2 separate regions of the Homo sapiens genome follow, and region 1 is linked to region 2. The links are contacts of gene promoters, found by promoter capture Hi-C in blood cells and fetal thymus (Javierre and others, 2016). All regions are on one chromosome and are shown on one strand. The core of a region is centred on a gene start or on the middle of the fragment in contact, and the rest is flanking DNA. Distances in the headings are between cores, read along the strand shown. Region 1 holds the start of ZNF551 (zinc finger protein 551). Region 2 holds the start of ZNF461 (zinc finger protein 461).

What was found. Contacts are between HindIII fragments. The CHiCAGO score rates a contact against its expected background, and 5 or more counts as called.
Region 1: a contact is called between the fragment with the promoter of ZNF551 here and the fragment with the promoter of ZNF461 in region 2, in 1 of 17 cell types (total CD4 T cells). The highest score is 5.8, in total CD4 T cells.

Annotation. Positions count from the first base shown.
Region 1 is chr19:57,680,600-57,683,390 of GRCh38, reverse strand. It overlaps ZNF551 (zinc finger protein 551), which reads right to left and starts at 1,414. Exons shown (of 3, transcript NM_138347.5): 1 at 1,147-1,414. The coding sequence starts at 1,227. RefSeq lists a silencer at 974-1,043 and an enhancer at 1,099-1,722. The HindIII fragment of the contact is 7,295 bases long and covers 1-2,791 here.
Region 2 is chr19:36,665,230-36,668,279 of GRCh38, reverse strand. ZNF461 (zinc finger protein 461) reads left to right here and starts at 1,443. Exons shown (of 6, transcript NM_153257.5): 1 at 1,443-1,590. It also overlaps a transcript of ZNF567 not described here. RefSeq lists an enhancer at 1,137-1,266. The HindIII fragment of the contact is 6,595 bases long and covers 1-3,050 here.

The DNA of each region.
Region 1 (2,791 bases), core at 165-2,664, about 21 Mb before region 2:
GAGCTTCCACACTTCTAACTGCCAAAATAAAACCTTTCAGTCATCCCTGACTCCACTCTCTTTCTCAAAACTAAAAATTCAGGCAGCCCTACTTAAAAAATGAATCCAGAATCCAACTGCTTCTCGCATCTTCACAGCCACCATTTTGGCCTATCACATTCTATCACATTCACCTGGCCTATCCCAGTAGTCTCCTCCCAGGTCTCCCCACCTCATCCTTCAGTTGGCTTCCCATGCTGCAGCCACAGGGAGCCTAATAAGACCAGAACCAGATCACCTCCCTCTTCCACTCCAAACCTCCCACTGTTACTATTAAGTAACGAATAGACAACTCAACTTCTCAGGGAACCATTCCGGGTCTGACTTCTACTACACTGCTCCCTGTTCTCATGAAAAGAAAATAATTGTAGGTTCCTGAACTATCTTAGCCTCCTCTCCAAACTTAGCATATACTGGTAACTTTGCCTTGGACAACCTTCTACATCTCCTTTCCCCCGGCTGCCAACAGCTTCATATAATCTAACCTGGACTTAAGACTCTGGGCTTTGTATTTGCTCAAAGTCTCAGGGCCCAAGGCTAGACGAGTGGCGAGGCTCAGGTCGCCCAATGACCCTGGTCCAGTTTTGGAGCCAGGTGGCCTGGGCTGGCTGCACTATCTCCGCACCTCAGTTCTCAGTGCTGACTTTACCAGCTGCGTGAGCTTGGACAAGAACTCAGTCTTCCTATGCCTAACTACTATTACCTCTCTTCAGCCTGTTCTTCCCCTGAGCAACTTTTGGATAGCTTTAGGAAATCCTAGCCCAGTGTCCCTATCTGTTCACAAATCTCGAAGGCTGCCAGTGTCCTCAGAATCGTCAAATTCGTCAGGTGCAACTCTGCCTCACTCTATGTTCCTGCAGACCCGAGACGGACCCCAGGCTCCTGAATCCCCCCCAGCTTAGTCGCAGCTCCAAGTTCTGCACGCGCCAGTCAACTGCCCGTCACATTTCCGTACACACTGGGCGTCACAAACGGGTCCAATCCACAAGCGCCTTCTTGTCCAGGGTACTGGGGCCTGGGCTGCAGGGCTGTGAGCAGGCATCCCTCACTGGGCCTTAAGGCTTCTGCTGGGGGAGGTAGGCGAGACCCGGAGGACGCACAACTCACCTGAGCCGAGTCCCTCAGCGCGACTGCCGCCATTGAGCTCCGTGGACTAGGCGGGGAGCGGCGGCCGACCGGGGCGGGCATTCGAACACAACAGTCCCTATCCCGGGCCTGGCGCAGCTCACCCGAGGTGGTGTCGCAGAACCTCTGGCCCACTTTCGCGACTTCTCTGTCCCGTCCCTCAGTCGCGACCTCCACTGCAGAAACTGGCGGGCTGGACAAACAGGACAGAGGCCAAAATGACCGCCACGAGGAGGACGCCGGAAGTTCCGGCCCGTCGCGCTGCGCGTGCGCGGAAGTGTTGCTATCCTGGGCTGTCATTGGCTCAACTCCGCCGCCGTTTTGCGCTCTGCACTCTGGATAATGTAGTTTCCAAAACTCCACGGAGCTCTTCGGAGTGTGTCCACTGCTTTGACCTCTGCGAACTTGTATTCTGAGGTGCTGTGCCCCGTGCAGGGAAATGGCGACTTCGGCCTCTAGGGGAGAAGGAGGTATTTACTCCTTCTTAAAGGGGCTTTTCCCAGATTTCTGGGAAGTGTTTTCCGTAACTGATCACTTAAGTGTTTAGAGACATTATTTCAGACTCCACGAAGCTCAGGGTGCCCCTAGAGGCAAACAAATATTATTTCAGGGGGTTGGGCGCGGTGGCTCACGCCTGTAATCCCAGCACTTTAGAAGGCCGAGGCGGGCGGATCACCTGAGGTCAGAAGTTCGAGACCAGGCTGGCCAACATGGCGGAACCCCATCTCTACTAAAAATACAAAAATTAGTCGGGCGGGCCGGGCGCAGTGGTTCACGCCTGTAATCCCAGCACTTTGGGAGGCCAAGGTGGGTGGATCACGCGATCAGGAGTTCGAGACCAGCCTGGCCAACATGGTGAAACCCTGTCTCTACTAAAAATACAAAAATTAGCCGGGCATGGTGGCGAGCGCCTGTAATCCCAGTACTTGGGAGGCTGAGGCAGGAGAATCGTTTGAACCTGGGAGGCAGAGGTTGCAGTGAGTCGAGATCACGCCATTGCACTCCAGCCTGGGCGACAGGGGGAGACTCCGTCTCCAAAAAAAAAAAAAGAAAAAAAAAATTTGGATTTTGGAGCATTTTGGATTTTAGATTTTTGGCTCAGGGATATTCAACCTGTATTTTGTTCTCATTAAATAGGTTCCTCTTTCACTTTGTTATTGTTTGATATACTAAAGTTTTAATTTTCATGAAGTCTAATTGGTCTATTTTTCTTTTGTCACATGTGTATTTGGTGTCAAATCCAAGAAATTATGGCCAAATTCAATGTCATAAAACTTTCACCCTATATTTTCTTTTAAGTGTTTTATAGTTTTGGGTCTTATGTTTAGGTTTTTAGTCCATTTTGAGTTCATTTGTGTTTTTGGTGTTAGGTAAGGGTTCACCTTCATTCCTTAGCATGTGAATATTTCATTTTCCCAGCATCATTTGCTGAAAAGATCATCGTTTCCCCATTGAGTGGTCTTGGTAGCCTTGTTGAGATCATTTGACCATATACATTACTATTGCAAATGATATTGTTTTCTTAATTTCCTTTTCAGATTTTTCATTGTTAGTGTATGGAAGGGCATATGAGTTTTACATGTTGACTTTTGCATGTTGACTTTGAATTCAGCTACACAGGTGAATT
Region 2 (3,050 bases), core at 194-2,693:
CAGCCATTCTCAAAAAGCCTCAAAACCGTTTCACCACCCAGCGCGGTGGCTCACACCTGTCATCCAATACTTTGGCCACTGAGACGGGAGGATCGCTTGAGCCCAGGAGTTCGAGACCACCAGCCTGGGCAACATAGCGAGACCCTGTCTTTACCAAAAAAATAAAAATAAAATAAATCGTTTTGGCCTGACCCGGTGGCTCACGCCTGCTATCCCAGCACTTTGGGAGGTGGATGCGGGAGGAGCTGAGGAGGTGGAGACTGCAGTGAGCTAGGATCGCGCCACCGCAGTCAGCCTGGGCAACAGGGCATGAAGACCCTGTCTCAAAAAGAGGCCGGGCGCGGTGGCTCACGCCTGTAATCCAGCACTTTGGGAGGCCGAGGCGGGCGAATCACGAGGTCAGGAGATCGAGACCATCCTGGCTAACACGATGAAACCCCGTCTCTACTAAAAATACAAAAAATTAGCCGGGCGAGGTGGCGGGCGCCTGTAGTCCCAGCTACTCGGGAGGCTGAGGCAGGAGAATGGCGTGAACCCGGGAGGCGGAGCTTGCAGTGAGCCGAGATTGCGCCACTGCACTCCAGCCTGGGCGACAGCGAGACTCCGTCTCAAAAAAAAAAAAAGAAAAAAAAAAAGTTGAGTGAAATATATGACGTACAGTTTTTTGTTGTTGTTGTTGTTTGTTTTTTCTTGCCCGGGCAACAGGGCAAGAAGACTCTGTCTCTAAATAAATAAATAAATGGAGTCAAATATATGACATACAGTTTTGTTTGTTTGTTTGAGAAGGAGTTGCTCTGTCGCCCAGGCTGGAGTGCAATGGCGCGACCTCGGCTCACCGCAACCTCTGCCTCCCGGGTTCAAGCGATTCTCCTGCCTCAGCCTCCCGAGTAGCTGGGATTACAGGCATGCGCCATCACGCCCGGCTAATTTTGTATTTTTAGTAGAGACGGGGTTTCTCCATGTTGGTCAGGCTGGTCTCGGTGATCCGCCCGCCTTGGCGTGAGCCACCGCGCCCGGCCAAAAAAAAAATTTTTTTTTAAATCGTTTCACATACAAATCTCACGCGCTACACCCTCACCGTCAGTTCATATCCACCTTCTCCTCCGGAGTCACCTTCGGACACGCGCACAACAAAACACCTTTCTCACCACAACTCCACAAAGGGAAGCCGGGTTAGTCCGCGCCCGCCGAAAATTATCTTCAGCCACAGCCCGCGGAGGCCGCCTTGAGGGGTTCGGGGCAGCCACTGTGCCTATTCCGAAATCCGTCCTCAGCGGAACCCGAAGTCCAGAATCCGAAAACGAACATTAACAGGTTGGCGTCACTCCAGCCTCGGGTGAAACTGCGCAAGTGCATCCCGGAGCCCGGCGGAACACACCCGCTCCACCCCAGGCGCTCTCCCCTCGGACTGCATTTCCCAGAGGACACTGCTGTCCACAGCTACTTCCGGTAGGAGCCTCGCAGGAATGGTCTCCGGGTAGAGGCAGGTAAGGATGTCCCGGGCCGGTGGAGAAGGAAGAGCTGGGCGTGTGGCTTCGCTTGGAATCCGAATCAGAGCTTGGACCAGAGCCTTCCCTGAGAATGCTGAAGGTAAGAAATCCTGGCTCACCAGTGCCGCGGAAGGGAATGTCTATAGTTTTAGGCCTCTGAGTGCGGGATCAGCCCTTAGGTGGGTGTGTTTTGAATGCGTGAGGAAGTAGGGTTTCTCTTTGGGCTGTGTGTTACTGTTGGGACAGCGACCTGGTGCGTGGGTGTGCTTTAGTGACAGTGTGATTGTGTGCCTGATCATTTGTGTAAATGGGGTTTGTAGGTGACTGTGACCATGATTGTGAATGGCTATTTGTGTAAATCTCATTTATTTACGTGAAAGAAAAAGCACATTTACAGGCCGGGAGCGGTGGCTCACCCCTGTAATCCCAGCATTTTGGGAGCCCGAAGCGGGTGGATGCCCTGATGTCGGGAGTTCGATACCAGCCTGGCCAACGTGGAGAAACCCCACCTCTACTAAAAATACAAAATTAGCCGGGTATGGTGGTGCATGTCTGTAATTCCAGCTCCTTGGGAGGCTGAGGCAGGAGAATCGCTTGAACCCGGGAGGCGGAGGTTGCTGTGAGCCGAGATCGCGCCATTGCACTCCAACCTGGGCAACAAGAGTGAAACGAAACTGTCTCAAAAAAAAAAAAACAAAAAAACATTCACGTTATCCTCAGGCTCACACGATCAGGCAGAGAGCTTCCACTCCTCTCAGTCAACTCTGGTCTCTCACACACAGACACACGCACATTCACCTCACCCCGCTCCTGTGCACACATCTAAGGCTCAGGACGCCCCACTCCAGAGATCTGTCATTCATCCATCTCTCATCCTTTCCTGACTACTTGAGGAGTTAGCTGTAGATTTACACACACAACACAAGCGAAAATCACATTGCTACCCCGCATTTATCATTACAGCCTCAGAAAAACACCACATATGTAGTATGCTTATGTACCTATGTGTTTGATTTTTTTTTTCTGAGATTTGGCCACAATACACATTGTTCTGCAACTTCCTTTTTTTTTTTTTTTTTTTGAGACGAAGTTTCTCTCTTTCACCGTGGCTGGAGTGCGGTGGCGCGATCTCGGCTCACTGCAACCTCCGCCTTCGGGTTTTAAGCAGTTCTCCTGCCTCAGCCTCACGAGTAGCTGGGATTACAGGCATCCGCCACCACACCCAGCTAATTTTTGTATTTTTAGTAGAGACGGGATTTCACCATGTTGGCCAGGCTGGTCTTGAGCCCCTGACCTCGTGATCCGCCCGCATCTGCCTCCCAAAGTGTTGGGATTACAGGCGTGAGCCACCGCGCCCGGCCTCTGCAACTTCTTACTAAAAGATATTTATGTCCTTTTGTCTGTATTCAAAGACAAACTTAAGAATATTTTTCAGGATGTTTCCAGGTATGATTCTTCTTTAATTCTTACAGCACTGTACTTCAAACTAAAGACTCAAGAATTTATTTTGGTCTGCAAATTTTTGTTCTATTTATTTTTTCTCTTCCATCTGTGTTGTTT